Linked DNA regions of Homo sapiens: all the other regions are linked to region 3. The links are contacts of gene promoters, found by promoter capture Hi-C in blood cells and fetal thymus (Javierre and others, 2016). All regions are on one chromosome and are shown on one strand. Each heading gives the region's core, a stretch centred on a gene start or on the middle of the fragment in contact. The rest is flanking DNA. Distances are from core to core; before and after follow the strand shown.

What was found. Contacts are between HindIII fragments. The CHiCAGO score rates a contact against its expected background, and 5 or more counts as called.
Region 1: a fragment that was not itself captured here is called in contact with the fragment with the promoter of PLEKHG6 in region 3 in 3 of 17 cell types (monocytes, neutrophils and naive CD4 T cells); the score reaches 8.4 in monocytes.
Region 2: a contact is called between a fragment that was not itself captured here and the fragment with the promoter of PLEKHG6 in region 3, in 7 of 17 cell types (monocytes, naive CD4 T cells, neutrophils and 4 more). The highest score is 8.7, in monocytes.
Region 4: a fragment that was not itself captured here is called in contact with the fragment with the promoter of PLEKHG6 in region 3 in 2 of 17 cell types (monocytes and M1 macrophages); the score reaches 6.2 in monocytes.

What each region holds. Positions count from the first base shown.
Region 1 is chr12:6,107,846-6,111,918 of GRCh38, forward strand. It overlaps VWF (von Willebrand factor), which reads right to left. Exons shown (of 52, transcript NM_000552.5): 4 at 3,021-3,123; 5 at 2,529-2,737. Among named protein-coding and RNA genes, the nearest start is that of VWF, 15 kb to the right of the region's middle. The HindIII fragment of the contact is 3,806 bases long and covers 664-4,073 here.
Region 2 is chr12:6,126,768-6,130,922 of GRCh38, forward strand. No RefSeq gene overlaps it. Among named protein-coding and RNA genes, the nearest start is that of VWF, 4.2 kb to the left of the region's middle. The HindIII fragment of the contact is 1,421 bases long and covers 1,646-3,066 here.
Region 3 is chr12:6,307,342-6,311,931 of GRCh38, forward strand. It overlaps PLEKHG6 (pleckstrin homology and RhoGEF domain containing G6), which reads left to right and starts at 3,341. Exons shown (of 16, transcript NM_001384598.1): 1 at 3,341-3,507. RefSeq lists an enhancer at 2,155-2,875 and a silencer at 3,238-3,287. The HindIII fragment of the contact is 5,964 bases long and covers 1-4,433 here.
Region 4 is chr12:6,082,659-6,087,303 of GRCh38, forward strand. All of the region lies in intron 6 of VWF (von Willebrand factor), which reads right to left. Among named protein-coding and RNA genes, the nearest start is that of VWF, 40 kb to the right of the region's middle. RefSeq lists enhancers at 184-930, 931-1,675. The HindIII fragment of the contact is 2,835 bases long and covers 1,946-4,645 here.

The DNA.
Region 1 (4,073 bases), core at 1,317-3,816, 200 kb before region 3:
GACGGGGTTTCACCGTGGTAGCCAGGATAGTCTCCATCTCCTGACCTCATGATCCGCCCACTTCGGCCTCCCAAAGTGCTGGGATGACAGGCTTGAGCCACCGCACCCAGCCGAAAGATTCAGTATTTCTAAACACTAATAACAAAGGCTCAAGATATACAAAGCAGGCCAGGCACGGTGACTCACGCCTGTAATCCCAGCACTTTGGGAGGCAGAGGCGGAGAGATCACTTGAGGTCAGGAGTTCAAGACTAGCCTGGCCAACATGCTGAAACCTCATCTCTACTAAAAATACAAAAATTAGCCAGGCGTGGTGACACCTGGATGTAGTCCCAGCTACTCAGGAGGCTGAGGTAGAAGAATCGCTTGAATCTGGGAGGTGGAGGCTGTAGTGAGCTGAGATCTCACCACTGCAATCCGGCCTGGGTGACAGAGCAAGACTCTGTCTTTAAAAAAAAAAAAAAAGAAAGAAAGAAAGAAAGAAATATATACACACACACACACACACACACACACACACACAAAGCAAAATTTGACAGAATTACATGAAGAAAGTGACAAATTCACCACCATTATAGAAAAATTTAGCTCTTTTAGTAATGGGTCATTAATAAGCAGACAAGAAGTAGTACACATACAGAAGATCTGGAAAACACAATTAAAAAGCTTAATTCAAGAAGTATAGGTAGAGTCCTGCACCAATCAGAGAATACATTATTTTTGGGCATACATAGAACACTTGTAAAAAAAAAAAAAAAGGCTGCAAACAAGTCTACAATTTTTTAACTAGGCCACAATTTTTTAACCAAATTTAGAAATCAATTTAGTTACAAATAGGTAACTTTAAAAACTTCAGGCCAGGTACAGTGGCTCACACCTGTAAGCCCAGCACTTTGGGAGGCCGAGGGGGGCAGATCACGAGGTCAGGAGTTGGAGACCACCCTGGCTAACACAGTGAAACCCTGTCTCTACTAAAAATACAAAAAATTAGCCAGGCATGGTGGCGGGTGCCTGTAGTCCCAGCTACTCGGAAGGCTGAGGCAGGAGAATGGCGTGAACCCAGGAGGCAGAGCTTGCAGTGAGCCGAGATCGCGCCACTGCACTCCAGCCTGGGTGACAGAGCGAGACTCCGTCTCAAAAAAAAAAAAAAAAAAATTCAAACTTTTGAATTTGTAAATGTATATAGGTTCAGAAAGAGCTCAAAATGGAAGTTAGAAAATTTAAAACATGAAATATGTTACATATCAAAATTGGTACAGCTGGGCACAGTAACACACACCTATAATTCCACTAGGAAGGCTGAGGCAAGAGGATTCCTTGAGCCCAAGAGTTCAAGATCAGTTTGGGCAACTTAGCAAGACCTTATCTCTAAATACACACACACAGAGACACACAGACACACACACACACGTGTATATATATACATATATATACACACACATATATAATTACATATATACACACATATACAGTATATATACATATTTACACAAACACACACACATATATAGAGTGCAACTAAAGTGATATTTAGAGGGAAATTTATAGCCCTAAATGTACATATCAGACAATAAAATCAGTGCTGGAGAAAACCAAAAAATAAACTATCATGCTATTTTCCAATATGGTACATTCCAATGAAAGGAAGAGTCAATTGTTTCTCTGCATGTTTACTCTCTAATCAGAAAGTGGTTGGGTCATAAGGAAGAAAGATAACATATGTAAGTGTTTAGCTTTGGCAAGGGAACATCACTAATTGAATGTTTATGTAATTGAAATTAAAGAAGATTGAAATATTCATCTTTAGTGTTTTCTTTTTTTTTTGAGACGGAGTCTCGCTCTGTCGCCCAGGCTGGAGTGAAGCGGCACGATCACTGCTCACTGCAAGTTCTCCCTCCCGGGTTCACGCCATTCTCCTGTCTCAGCCTCCCAAGTAGCTGGAACTACAGGCACCCGCCACCACGCCTGGCTAATTTTCTGTATTTTTAGTAGAGACATGGTTTCACCATGTTAGCCAGGATGGTCTCAATCTCCTGACCTCATGATCCGCCTGCCTCGGCCTCCCAAAATGCTGGGATTACAGGGGTAAGCCACTGCGCCCAGCCTAGTGTTTTCACATTATCCATATTACTTTCTATTGCTCGTGAACACACACATGCACACACACATAAACTGGCCTTTTTGGATGGTGTGGAGGACCGACCACTCCATAGATTTTATCCACTCCACTGTAGTGGGCTGAGGAGGATCGACTCAAACTACCCAGCATTGACCAACCATCTGCCACGTGCAAGTTGCTACAGAGAATTCAAAGTTGAACGAAGTCAGCTTTGAGGAGCTCTAAGACCTGGTTTCACTAGAGGTCTAGGCATTGGAATGGAATGCAAAGAGATAAGGTTGGCAACATAAATTGAGGTGAGGTCACAGTGAGGCTTGAATGCCAGGGAAGGCATGTTAGTGAAGGTTTATGAGCAAGGAAATAAAAAGCATGGCCACACTTTAGGGAAATGGTATCCCAGAACATCTTACCTTCTTGGGTCATAAAGTCATCTTCAGCAAAGATGTTAAAGTTGCCACACAGCCCGCAGGTCTTGTTGAAGTATCTGTCTGACAGCAGGACTTGAAAGTTGCCGCTGCCATCGATCCTGGCCACAAAGCCATAGGCCTCACCGGACAGCTTGTAGTACCCAGCCTCAGTTTCTAGATACAGCCCTTTGGAGGCATAGGGCATGGAGACTCTGGAGGGCAAAGGCTAAGTTCAGAAGTGGGCTTCTTGTGCATTTTCTGGATGTCTCTCCCACCTTCTAACCCCAACCCCATGTTGTAGGGTTCAGAACATGGTGCAAAGTGGCTGAGGACCTAGATCAGCAATCGGGAGAGCTGGCTCTCACCCAGCCCTGCTACTCACTTCCTTGGAACATTTGCTTCCATTCTCTGGGCCCCAGCTTCCTCATCTAAAAATGAGGGGGTTGTGTCAGGGGATCCCTAGGGTCCTTTCTAACTCAGACATTGTTGGCTTACCTTTGGTCCCCCTGTGTCACGGTACCATTGACAAACAAATGGATGTCAAAAAATTCCCCAAGATACACGGAGAGGCTCACTCTCTTGCCATTCTGGAAGTCCCCTGAAAGAGAAAAAAGTCAATAGTAGTGATTATTACTCCTCTCAAAAAATGAATACATTGATTAAGAATCATTATCTACGTAACCTTTTCTCAGCAGAAAACGCCCCAAAAAGTCTTTACAAGCGAGCAACAAAAATCTCCCTAAAAATCTCATTTTCTCACCCATTTTTCCATTCATCTAAAAATAATTATTGAGTGACTTCTGGATACATTGCCCTCAGGTAGGCTCTCAAACATCACAAAAGAAAAATCTAAAAGCATGATCTTTTGCTTCTGGGAGTTTACAACCTGCGTATAAATAGAAGACAAACATGCGACAATTGAGTATATTGTAAGGCAGCAAACAAAAAGGCAACACTGTGAGTTACTGGTAACAGGTGCTCTAGGAGAGTGTTATTTATTCATTCATTCATTCACTTATTGAGACAGGGTTGTGCTCTGTTGCCCAGGTTGGGGTGCAGTGATGTGAACATGGCTCGCTGCAGTTTCTGCCTCCTGGGCCCAGGTTATCCTCCCACCTCAGCCTCCAGGGTAACTGGGATCACAAGTATGTACCACCACATCCAGCTAATTTTTTTTTTCTTTTTGTAGAGACAAGATCTCACCGTGTCGCCCAGGCTGGTCTTGAGCTCCTTGGTGCGAGTAATTACAGGCATGAGCCACCCCGCTCTGGCCTAGCAGTGCTATTTAAAATGGTATCGGTCGAGTGCGGTGGCTCACGCCTGTAATCCCAGCACTTTGGGAGGCTGAGGCGGGTGGATCACGAGGTCAGGAGATCGAGACCATCCTGGCTAACACGGTGAAACCCCGTCTCTACTAAAAATATGAAGAAAAAAAAAATTAGCCAGGCGAGGTGGCTGGCGTCTGTGGTCCCAGTTCTTTGGGAGGCTGAGGCAGAAGAACGGCGTGAACCCAGGAGGCGGAGCTTGCAGTGAGCGGAGATCGCGCCA
Region 2 (4,155 bases), core at 1,106-3,605, 180 kb before region 3:
GGATTACAGGCGTGAGCCACCACGCCCAGTCTAGAATTTTCATCCTTTGCACTCATGCAAATAAAGCTCTCTTGACGATGAATTCAAAATCACAAATTTTTCAACACTTGAGAAAACAATCTACCATGAGCAAGAATTAAATCCCTAAGAATTTCAGATAATAAAATCATCAGAGAAAGATAAAAAGAAAAAAATGAGTGTTTAAAATTATAATAGAGGCTAGGCACGGTGGTTCATGTCTATAATCCTGGCACTTTGGGAGGCTGAGATGGGATAATCGCTTGAGACCAGGAGTTCAAGACCAGCCTGGGCAACACAGCAAGACCCTGTCTTTACAAAGAATAAACTTTTTTCAAGGCAGGGCACGGTGGCTCACGGTGGGTGGATCACAAGGTCAACAGATCAAGACCATCCTGGCCAATATGGTGAAACCCCATCTCTACTAAAAATACAAAAATCAGCTGGGCATGGTGGCACGCACCTGTAGTCCCAGCTACTCTGGAGGCTGAGGCAGGAGAATCGCTTGAACCCGGGAAGCGGAGGCTGCAGTGAGCCAAGATCATGCCACAGCACTCCAGCCTGGTGACCGAGTGAGAGTCCGTTAAAAAAAAAAAAAAAAGAAAGAACAGGAGGAAAACTTGAAAAAGAACTTTAAGGCCAGACGTGGAGGCTCACACCTGTAATCCTAACACTTTGGGAGGCAGAGGCAAGAGGATTGTCTGTGCTCAGTAATTTGAGACTAGCCTACACAACACAGCAAGACCCCATCTCTACAAAAAATAAAAATAAAAAATTAGCTGGGCCTGGCGGTGCATGCCTGTGGTCACAGCTACTCAGGAGGCTGAGGTAGGAGGGAGGACCCCTTGAGCCCAGGAGGTTGAGGTTGCAGTGAGCCATAATCGCGCACTCCAGCCTAGCCAATAGAGTGAGATACTGTCCCAAAAAAAAAAAAAAAGAACTTTAAGAAATGTATATAGTAAATTAATTGAAAAATTCAAAAACACCAGATATTTTTGGGAAAAAAAAAGCTGAAAAATGGTTCTAAAGAAATCACTCAAATATAGAGATGAAAAAATGGAAGAGCAGCCAGGCACAGTGGCTTATGCCTGTAATCCCAGCACTTTGGGAGCCCAAGTAAGGCAGATCACTTGTGGTCAGGAGTTCGAGACCAGCCTGGCCAACGTGTTGAAATCCCATCTCTACTAAAAATACAACTATTAGCCTTGCATGGTGGTGCATGCCTGTAATTCCAGCTATTCAAGAGGCTGGGGCAGGAGGATTGCTTGAACCCAGGAGGCAGAGGTTGCAGTGAGCCAAGATCACACCACTGCACTTTGGCCTGGGTGACAGAGTGAGACTCCATCTCAAAAAAAAAAAAAAAAAAAAAAAAAAATGGAGGCAGAATTAAGAAACATGATAGAATTAGAAGATCCAAAGAGAAGTGCTGAGAGAAGAAGTCCATTTGTGGAGAATTCTATATGCAGTGTCTTAGTTTGAAGTCCCAGAAGCAGACCCTGAGTATTTTAGTGTAGATAATTGATTTGGGAGGACAGGAAGCATCGGCAGGGAAGTGGGAATGTGATACGGGGCAGGGAAAGCAGTCAATAAAAGATGTTTATTATGCCAGCCACCAAGTGGACAAGAAAGCTTCCTTCTGGAGGGAAGTCTGGGAAAATGTAAGATCCATGCCTCTGAATCTTCCCACTCTTGGGTCAGGGAGCAGGAGAGTTTCTACACTTACTCCTTCCTGTCAGTTATTGTCAAGGCTGCTTCAGGAGGCATTCAGCCCTCAACACTTCTGGCCCTCAGGCACGGAGGAGCAGACACTGGTAGTCTAGAAGAAACGGAGAGATGGGGTTAGAGGGCCGTGGCAGAGGGACTGTAACATCTGGTCTACCTGTAAATTATTGTTCAGAGTTGAGGAAACATAGACTTTTTTTTTTTTTTTTTTTTTGGAAAAACAGAGTGGGCTTAACATTAACAGTCCTTTCTGAAGAAACTACTAAAGAAGGAATTTCAGGGAGAAAAAACATTTTTTGTTATTGTTTCTGAGACAGGGTCTCTGTCACCCAGGGTGGAGCGCAGTGACACAGTCACAACTCACTGCAGCCTAAACCTTCTGGGCTCAAGCGATCCTCCCACCTCAGCCTCCCTAGTAGCTGGGACTATGGGCATGTACCACCATACCTGGCTAATTTTTGTATTTTTTTGTAGAGACAGGGTTTTGCCATGTTACCTAGGCTGGTCTCAAACTCCTAGAGCTCCTGGGCTCAAGCAGTCTTCCTGCTTCGGCCTCTCAAAGTGCTGGGATTACAGGTGTGAGCCACCTCGCCCTGCCAGGAAGAAGAAAATTCAGCCTAGAAACAGGATGCCAAGAAAAGGTAAATAAATAAAATAGTAAATCTGGGGGTAAATATGAGCAGGCAGTCATTATATAAAACAATAACAATGGTAATGATAAGTTGGAGAGTTATTAAAAATTAGAACCAAAATACCAGATAGCAATGACATGTAAGACAGGAGTGAAAGTGTATTAAGGTCCTTGCATGGCTCAGAAGGAAGAAACAGGTCATGATCACTTTAGACTTAGTTAAGGCTATACTGCATAGTAAGATTTTAAGGGAGGCTACTGAAAGAATAGAATTGAATGTATGTTTTCCAAACCTATCGAAAAAAAACAAGAAATTTTTAAAAACTAGATTGATCTAGGAGAAAAATGGAAAAAGCAAGACAAATAGTATAAAATGTAAATGCAACAGTACAAAAAATTCAAACAGATCAATAATCAATAATAAAAAGGTAGAGATTATCAAATTGGATTTCTTTAAAAAGGCACACAATCCAGCAATGTTCAAGAGACAGTCCTAAAATATAAACACACAAAGACCGTAAGGAAAAGAAAGGAGAGGCAAGTGATGGCCAAGGAAAAGCGTTTTATACCACTATCACACACAGTGGACCTTAAGATCAAAGTCATCATTAGCACCAAAGAGTAGAAAAAGGTGATACAAAGATCAATGCACCAGGAAGATGGAATCTATAGATTTATGTGCACTTCATAATATAAGCTTAAAATTTATTTTTAAAAACGATTAAATTATAAAGCAGAAAAGCTTTCAGTTTTGTAAAAGTCAACAACACCCAGTTATGGAAAACAAGTAAACAAAACACTTAAGTAACCTATAAAAAGAAGGGAAGGTCCTTGGCCTGAGACACAGAGCATATTTCATACTTATGGTAAAATGGAAGCCACTTTCCCTTTAAAAACCAGAACAAGGCCGGGCGCGGTGGCTCACGCCTGTAATCCCAGCGTTTTGGGAGGCCGAGGCCTGTGGATCACGAGGTCAAGAGATTTAGACCATCCTGGCCAACATGGTGAAACCCCGTCTCTACTAAAAATACAAAAATTAGCTGGGCATGCCGCTGGCGCGCGCCTGTAGTCCCAGCTTCTAGGGAGGGTGACGCAGGATAATTACTTGAACATGCAAGCATGTTCTTTTTTTTTTTTTTTTTTTTTTTTTTTTGAGACTGAGTCTCGCTCTGTAGCCAGGCTGGAGTGCAGTGGTGCGATCTCGGCTCACTGCAATTTCCGTCTCCCAGGTTCATGCCATTCTCCTGCCTCAGCCTCCTGAGTAGCTGGGACTACAGGTGCCTGCCACTACGCCCGGCTAATTTTTTTGTATTTTTAGTAGAGACGGGGTTTCACCGTGTTAGCCAGGATGGTCTCGATCTCCTGACCTCGTGATCCACCCGCCTCAGCCTTCCAAAGTGCTGGGATTACAGGCGTTGGCCACCGCACCCGGCCGACAAGCATGTTCAATGTCATCACTGCTAGTCAATATTGGATCAGATGCCCAGGCCAGCAAAGTAAGAGAAGAAGAGAAAATATGAGGTATGGAGCTTAGGAAAAAGCAAAATAGTTATTATTTGAAGATATGAATGTGTACATAGAAAAATTCAAAAGAATCTACCTAAGAGTTTAGAAGTTTGCCGCAAGATTCCTTTTTAAAATCTATTATGTTCCCATATAGTTATAAAATACAATCTTTGAAGTGGCCCTATTAGTAAAGTAGCAATTACTGCAGATACTTAAGAATAAATAGAATAGGCCGGGCGTGGTGGCTCACACATATAATCCCAGCATTTTGGGAGGCC
Region 3 (4,590 bases), core at 2,091-4,590:
CTACTCATCCTTCGAGTCCCAACACAAAGCTCGCCTCCTCTAGAAGCCATCCCTGGCTCCCCTATGTAGTAACCGGTCCCTCCAAAGTGTTCCCACAGCTCCTGACTTAGTCGTTCTTGGTCTAACTTAAATATCAATGTTCTTTTCGCCCATCTGCCTCCCCACTAGTCTGTAAGCCCCTAGAAGTCAGGGCCTCTTATTCTTTTCTATATTCCTACTGTCTTACACATTGCCAGTAAATGTGGAAGGAAGGGGGAGGGGACGAAAGAAGAAACGGGAAGCACCAGTTCTGGCCTGAGGCACCAGAGGCTTTGCCCTGTGGCCTGTCCTCCTGGTATTCATCTGCCTCACATGACCTGGCGCCTCCTAGCTTGAACCCTCAGTTTCTGCCTCGCTCTGGGCAGGGAGGACACAGCTCCCATTAGCTGCCTCCTGTTGCTAGTGCCTGCCAGCCCCTCATTAGCCCAGATGGTCCCCACTTCTGCCCTGAGAGATATGGGCTCAGCAGAGGTCGAGGCACAAATGAGTTTCCCTGACCTTCCTGCCTGGTGAGCCCCTTATGCCAACCCCAGGCAGTTATCCTCAGGCTGCTATTGGACAGAAGCATTTGATCCTCAGAGCTCTGACCGTGGACACACACTTTACCATCAGTTATGGGGTCAATCCAGGGGCCTAATGAGGAGCATCTTACCTGGGAGAAAGTGAGGCATATGACTCAAGCTAGACATGTGAGGAAAGGCTAGGATAACCAGGAATAAAGAGAAGTATCCAGATGGCATACTCTGGTCCAAGGACCAGATGGCCCCTAGCCTCACTTGGCAGAGGCCAAGCCTCCAGCCTCCCAATTCTTTACATTTCATTCAGCTCCCTGAGAATGCTCCCCTCAGCCTGCCATAGGAGTGTGCTCTCCGCAGCACAGAGGAGTCATGGAAGTGGAGACTGTGAGAGTGACAGAAGAGAAGAAACAGAACATGGAGGCCTGCCTCCTAGGCCACACACCTGTGCCCGGCCACACCTCTGGCTTCTAGACTCCAGCTTGCCCTGGGAACCTCTCCTCCCAGGGAGGCTGAAGACAGGCCCTGGGGCAGTAGTGGGTGGAGACTGGACCTCAACGCCTAGAGGGAAGTGAAAGGGTTAACCACCCCGCCACCCACCACCACCTGCCACTGGGCCCCTCTAGCCAGCTCACCCCAGAGCACTGTAAGCCCAGGCTTGTCTTTGGTGCTCTCTCAATTTCATCTTCCCTCTTATTCCTCCTTCCCACTCCTTCTGGGAGACACTGGGAGGAGAAGCTAGGGGCCATTGGCACCAGCTGTCTCTGGGGTGTCATTTAATACTGTCCGTAATCACCACCTCCTCTCCTGGCTTATTAACTCTTTCCCTCATGGCTACTCTTGTCATCCCTGGACATCTCTCTATCTCTGTCTAGCTCTCACCACACACACACACACACACACACACACACACACACACACACACACACACACACACAGTGAATGGGAAGAGGGAAGGGCTAGGAACTAGGCACACTCTGGTTTCTTGCCACTGCAGTTCCTTTCCCACCTGACTTCACCCCCGAAAACTAGTCCCACCACCAGCTGGGCCAGGAGCAGGAGACAGGCTGGTTCAAGGAGCTGGAGGAACAGAGGACACTTCTGAACCAGCAGAGCAATCACACAACAGCAAGCTCAGAGAAAGAGAATCCCAGAGGGCAGATTTGAGGATGGACACAGGGAATACAAAATTAGAAACTGCCCAAAGATATAGATTCCTCCTCCAAACAAAATAGAGTCACCAGAGTCCGAGTGAGGACTAGAACACTCTGATCATGTATGCGTTTCATAGCCTAGATGGGAAAAGGGAATAGAGGCCTTTTCCCCTGGCAACTCAAGGAGATTCTGCTTCTGAAAGTGTTTCCTGAACTTCAGGATGCTCTGAAGAAGTAAGGAGCCGTATCAATCACTGTTGAGTTCATTGGCAGGAAATAGACCACAGTCAGGGTGAGGGGCTGGGAGCCTCAGACCTGCCACCTGCCAACTACAGGGTCTTGGGTTTCATGGTTGTGAGATTATAATGACCACACATCCACAGGACACTTCTATCTCAAATATCCAGTGCTTCTGTCAGACGAGGTGCCATGATTTGGAGAAGTGAAAAGGTGGGGAAACCGAAGCAGGAGGATCGCTTGAACCCAGGAGTTGGAGTCCATCCTGGGCCACACAGCAAGATATTGTCTCTATTTTCTTTTTAAAAAATAAATTTTAAAAATAAAGAAAATAAAGTATGGTCCTTTCATGCAATGCCCAGCATGTGTCAGTCCTTCCACAGCATCTTTTTCTTTTTCTTTCTTTTTTTTTTTTTTTTTTTTTGAGATGGAGTTTCACTCTGTTGCCCAGGCTGGAGTGCAGTAGTGCTGTCTTGGCTCACTGCAACCTCCACCTCCCAGGTTCAAGCGATTCTCCCGCCTCAGCCTCCCAAGTAGCTGGGACTACAGGCGCCCGTCACCATGCCCAGCTAATTTTTGTATTTTTAGTAGAGTCGGGGTTTCACCATATTGGCCAGGCTGGTCTCCATCTCCCGACCTTGTGATCCGCCCGCCTCGGCCTCCCAAAGTGTTGGGATTACAGGCGTGAGCCATCGCGCCTGGCCCCACAGCATCTATTTTAGCAGCCACCGCAAGGGCTGGGTGACCCTGGTGTAGCCGGGAGTGGGCTTATTTGCAGGTGAACTGGGAGGGTGCCCCCACCTGAGTCTTAGGTCATAGGAGAAGTGCGGGTCAGGCCTCAGCTGCCTATCCCTGGAGCAAAGGCAAAGTCCAGGATAGCCTTCCAGTATCACCTTCCACCAGGCAGGCCAGCCGGTCCTCTGAGAGATAAGGCTCACACTTTGGACTCCACACAGCGACGGGGCCCCCTGCCCCTCCAGCTGGCAGGCGGGCTCCCTGCCTGCTTAGGGGTCTAGGCCGAGGCAGGGGGAGGACCGGACGGCCGGCCACTCGCCGCGACCAGCAGGAGAGAGGGGTGCCTGCCACAGGTTGTCACCCTCGCCGCCTCCCCCGGCGGCGCCCCGCCCCTTACTCAGCCCTCATTACTGCAGCGCCTCGCGGGGGTCTGGCCCGGAGTGGAGGGCGCGCGGTCCCAGCCCTCCCGCTCGGCCGGCGGGTGTCGAGTTCAGGTGCGACCGAAAAGGGGAAAGGAGGGCACCGCCACGTGAGCTGTCCTCTCCGGGGAAGGCGGTGGCTGCGTGAGGGCGGGGGCTGCTCGGTCCCCAGGGCCCCGCCCCTCTGCCCCTCTGCCCCGAGCGGTGCTGGCGGTAGGGAGGGGCCAGCCCGGTCCCCGCCCTCCTCGCCCGGACCCGCGCTGCCCGGCTCCCGCGGGCCGCTCGATCCCAGTCCCAGGCTGGGCATCGGGGCTGGCTGGCATCGCCGGGGAGCCGACGGCGACGGGGAGCCCCGCGGGCGGGGAGGGCGGCGCAGGGCAGCGGGTGCGGTGACACCTGTGGGCACAGGTGAGCGGCGGGAGGGCTACGCGGCCCGGGGGCGGGGCGGCCGGGACCCGGGGCCTGGAAGCCGGGGCGAAGGGGAAGGAAGGCCTGGCCTCCCGAAGGCGGGAGGAGGGGAGCCGGGGGCTGGGCTGAGACAGGACCCTGGGTAGGGAGCAGTGCGAGGGAGACAGCGCCCTCAGAGGGAGGACTATTGGGAGGCGGCAGGAGGGACAGCGAACGTTTCCTCCTCTGCTCCTGAATCGGAGGAAGGTAAGGGAGGGCTGAGGCAGGACCTCAGGCCCACCCGGTCGGGGCACAAACACCTGCGCAGCCTTCTTGAGCCCACCGCCCCTTAGGAGGCCTCTCCTCTTCCAGGCCCTGCCCACTCGAGGGCGGGCCCTCCCTCCAGGTTTAGGGGGGAGGGATGGAGCCCCACGCCTGGCCCCCAGCTCCATGGTGGTATTCCCAGAGTCTGGGGAGGACCAAATATATAGCCCGAAACTGGAGAAACTCTAATTCTATTTGGCTGGTCTCTAAGGGCAGTGGCCGGACAGCTGGCCCCACTCACCTCCCTGTCTGTGGTCAGGAGGGTTCAGGTAGGAGATGGGCAAGCCTTTCAGTAAAGGCCAGACAGTAAAGATTAGAGACTTCGCGGCCTACACCGTCTGTCCCAACTAGCAAGAAGCAGTCACAGGTTATTAGGAGACCAGCAGAAGAGGATGGATTCCAACAAAACTGTGTTTATGGACACTGAATTTGAATATCATGTAATATTTACTTGTCCCAAAATATTGGTGGCTTTTTTGCAGGGGGGGCAGCAGTTGTTTCAACTATGTAAATATGTAAAGGCTTACAGGCTGTACAAAAACTGGTGGCAGACTGGGCTGTCTCCAGCCACCCCCACTCCCAGCCCACCCCACCCACCATGGCCTCCCTCCAGCTTTTTCCCAAGCTTTATATGGGGAAGGGGATGGGGTTATATCTAGGTGCAAGGAGAACCCTCCCACCTGGGTGTATCCAGAAAGCCCGAGACCTGTCTGTGACCCTTGTTCCCATTTGAGACCAGTGCAGGAGCTTGTACCCCAAATATGCACACATGTGAGAGAG
Region 4 (4,645 bases), core at 2,113-4,612, 220 kb before region 3:
CTCTACCTCACTTCCAGTTTCTGTAAGTCACTTGTCTTTTTCTGTCCATAAATCTTCTTTGACCATGAGGCAGGCCAGAGTCTCTCTGAGCCTGTTCTGATTCGGGGGCTGCCTGGTTCATGCATCATTCTTTGCTCAAGTAAACCCTGTTAAATTTAATTTGTCTCAGGTTTTTCTTTTAACACTAGTGATGGGGTGCAAACCCTGAGTGCCTGAGTCCATTCCAAACCACAAATTACAGTTTTCCATCCTGCCCTCCCACTCCTGTTTCCTAGCAATCAGATTAGAAGACAGGGTCATACAGTGGCTGTAGCTCAGGTTTTAGAAGCATGGTTGGGCTAGAATCTCAACCCATCACTTTCTTTTTTTAGATGAAGTCTCGCTCTTGTTGCCCAGGCTGGAGTGCAATGGCGTGATCTCAGCTCAATGCAACCTCTGCCTCTCGCAACCCATCACTTTCAAAGCGTGTGACTTTAAGAAAATGATCTTGGCCAAGTGCAGTGGCTCACACCTGTAATCCCAGCACTCTTGTATTTTTAGTAGAGATGGGGTTTTGCCATGTTGGAAGGGTAGTCTCAAACTTCTGACCTCATGATCCACCCACCTCGGCCTCCCAAAGTACTGGGATTACAGGCGTGAGCCACCGCAACCGGCCTGATCCCAGCACTTTTGGAGGCCAAAGTGGGCAGATCACTTGAGTCCAGGAGTTTGAGACCAGCAATATGGCAAAACCTTATCTCTACAAAAATATCCAAAATTAGCCAGGCGTGGTGGCACGTGCCTGTAGTCTCAGCTACTAGAGAGGCTGAGGTGGGAGGATCACTTGAGCCTGGGAGGCAGAGGTTGCAGTGAGCCAAGATTGCACCACGGCACTCCAGCCTGGGCAAGAGAGCGAGACTCCGTCGCAAAAAACAAAAAAGAAAAGGAAAATTATCTTGCCTCTCTGCATCCTCATTTCCCTACCTGTGAAAGAGGGGAAAAGTGGAAGAGGTTGAAAGTTGTCCAGGAGCTATTCTCCCCTTCTTAGTCACAGAATCCTCAGTTTTCAATTTCCCACCCCCACGGGGCACAGAGCTGCTAGGAATAAGATTCCATTTCTCAGCCTCCCTTGCAGCTGGGGGCAGCCATATGACTAAGCAATACCCAGTAGGCTATAAGCAGAGGGGTCTTGTGCAACCTCCACCAAGTGTCCTCAAAATAAGGGACTGCTTCTTCCTTAGTCCCTTCTCTTTCTACTGCGGGAATGTAGTTGTGATGCCTGAAGCTTGAGCCGGCGTTTTGGTGCACAAGGTAGAAGCCCCCACTGGGGACAACAGAGAAATAAGACAGAGGGACCCTGGATCCCAACACCATGAGATCTTGCATGGCCCTGGACATCCTACCCCAAACTTCTTTACATGAGAGATAAATAAACTTAGATTGTATAAGTCCTGTCACTCACAGCTGAACCTACTCCTAACTGACACAGACAGCAGTACTTGGACCTACCCTAGATGGTTTCTGCAAAATGAAATCAAATGAGATGACACCAGGAAATCAAATGCTTATAACTATTCTCATTTGCCTGCAATCGGTACTGGCTCCTCAGTTCTCTGCTAAACCATTCTGGCAGGGATGCAAAACAAGGGCCAGCTAATTTGCACACTTCCAGCATCTCCCTGGCTCCAAGGCCCTGCATCAGCTACTCCTGTCTTCTTTCAACTCCTGTCGGCCGTGCCAGGAGCTGCGGGAGAGCAGCTGCCCCAGCCCATCCAGCCATGACCTCACCATGCCTGGGTTGGTGTGCAGGCCCAATTGTGGCCCATCTTAATCACATTTCCAGTTCATTAAAGAAGACCAGGCATCTTCCCTGGAGACATCAGGCGGGTGCAGGGGAGGAGGAGGGAAAGCAAGCACATCTCAGTGGCAGGCAGCAGGAGGAGAGAAAGCAGAGCCAGAGATCTGAAGCTTAGCTATTGTGTTTGCTCCCAAGCAGCTGACAAAGGAGAAGGGAGGGGGACATTCCTAGGACTGAGTGAACAAAGAAAGGAAAGTCTAATACATAGAGTGCAATATTGTTCCACAAGCCCTGATCTTTCTAGCTCTGGGATGGGTGCCCTGCAGCAGCCCCTGGTAGGTATGGAGGCGCCTGGAGTCTGAGCTGCTCCAAAGTAGTGGGTTCAAGAATTCACCCTGCAGCAGGGAATACTTTCTCATTGGTCAGCTGTAATGATGGGTGGGGGAGGGTAGCTGATTCTATTTATAACTTCTGGCCGGCCCAAGATTCCCACCCGCATTCCAAGATTCTGACTCACAAGGACCTGGTGAAACCTGTTGATAGATTTCCACCAAATGGATGGTTTCTGCAGAGCTTGACATTCCTCTCTCTAAGATAGCTGGGGTCCAGTGCTCATGAGAAGTAGGAGACTTGGCCATGGACCTCTCTAAGGGACCCTCCTCACCTTCTCCTTGGGGCTCCTGGAGGCATCTGAGCAGCTTCTAGGGATTAGGGCATGCTGGCTGGATGGACAAGGACGGGGCACCATTCCCTGGTTCCCAGTCTAGGGCCTACCAAGCTCTGGGGATGGAAAGCAGCCCTTTCTGAATCACTCACCCATCCTGCTCCCAGCAAGAAAAAAGCATCAGCTCTGTGACAGGAGCTAATTCCCCTAAGCTGCGCTATCACTTACCATTCACTTGGCGATTTGTCATTTACTAACCCCAGACAGTCTTTCATGGTTTAATTTCTCTTACGTGTCTTGTCCCTTAGTCTACGTTGTATCACGCAAGCCATATGAAACATCTCAGTGAATATGCACTTATGGGCACCATCAGATTCTTGTCCATTCTGTTGCTCACCAGGGAAAAGGAAAAGGGAAAGGAACCCACCTGAGAAATAGTTCGTTAAAGGATTTTGGGAACATTATGTTAGGGAGGCCTTTGAATTGAATGCTTGGGTGCTAGGTCCTTATCCAACTCTCCTCAAGGGCTTGTCAAATGAGCAACATAAAAAGCCAAGTTCCAATGAGAACACATGGACACAGGGAGGGGAACATCACACACCACGGCCTGTGGGCGGGGAGGGGGGGCGCGGGGGGCGGGGGCAAGGAGAGAGCGAGCATTAGGACAAACACCTAATGCATGTGGGGCTTAAAACCTAAATGATGGGTTGATAGGTGCAGCAAACTACCATGGCACATGTATGCCTATGTAACAAACCTGCACGTTCAGCACATGTATCCCAGAACTTAAAGTAAAATTTTAAAAAAAAATTTTTAAAGGCCAAGTTCAAGGGAAATCTGCAAAACCCCATGGTAGCCACTGACCTCTGCCATGAGGCTAGACCCCCAAGGGAACAGTGGCCAAGGTCACCACTGTTTCACCACAACCATTGGCTCCCTGCCCTTCTCCCATCCTGCACTCAGGTGAGCCAGTCTGCTGTAAAGAAAGGGTGCCTATCCATGGGGGGTTCCGTGGAGCTCTGTTTACCTCAGAGAGGGAAGACTGAGAGGCAGAGTAGGAAAGTAACTTACACGAGGACATGCAGAGAATTGGGCCAAACCAGGGACTGCCCCCTGGATTCTTGGACCTCACTAAAGCACTTGAAATAAGTCCTCATTCCTTAGCCTATCAATGACTCAAGAAAGAGAGACTTGAGAGAGCAGTTCTCATCAAAACGGGGAAAGACACGTGTGTACTTATTGCAAACCCCAGCTCTGAGCTTGGTGTCACTGGGGCATAGTGGGTGGGCACCCCAACTCTAAAACCAGGGCCATCATCTGACAACTAACTTCTCTGGGATCCTGCATTCCAAGGGTCCTTCCTTGAGATCTACTGACCTTCTCTGGGCCAGGCTCTCCCCTGACAACTGTACTCTATGAATCACAACTATGCTACCAAGCAAACAAATGTAACAAAATTCTTCCCAGTCTCCAAGAAAAGTCCATTCCAGACCAAAACTGCCAATTAAGTGAATGGAAGAGGCAAGGAGAAGAAGGAGGGAAGGCAGAAGTGGGCCTAGACAGTGAGACCCAAGTCCGCTGGGCTTACATTGCCTCCCTCCATGCCTGTGAATTTCCCTTTCAGAGTCACCATGAGCAGAAATAGCAGAAAGGGCTGGTAGGTCCTTTGCAAATAAAAGGCTTGAGCAATATTTAATGAGAACATGAAGAGTGAACTGCTTTGTCTCTAACGGAATGGGTATTTTCTGTGCCTCTTTGGGCTACTGAGGAGGCATGCTGTGATTATTCAAAGTCAACATGACTGTTTAAAATGTTAGCTCAAGCAGGACAGGTGATTTTCTGGGAGGAAGAGGAATCACAGGTGAACTGCATGCTGTTTCAGAGGAGGCGGAAAGAGTTCTACAAGATAATGGAGGACGCGAGAGAATGTGAAGACATGAATGGCCAAAGAAAATAAGGCTTGTGTTCACCTAATAAACACCAAATTCAGAGACCAGTGGAAAACAGGAAATCTGAGGCTATTCAGTGACTGACAGGACTGCAATTGATGTGAGCTCCTGAGCCAGACCAGGAGAAACCAGACCCAAAGCACCTGCTTCTCCAGTATTCAGGGACACGGAAGGACAGGGCTTTAGCTTCGAACGGGCATACAATGAAAGAAGGAATTTACCAGGGAGTAAAGGAGGGCTGCCTAGGGCTGAGGT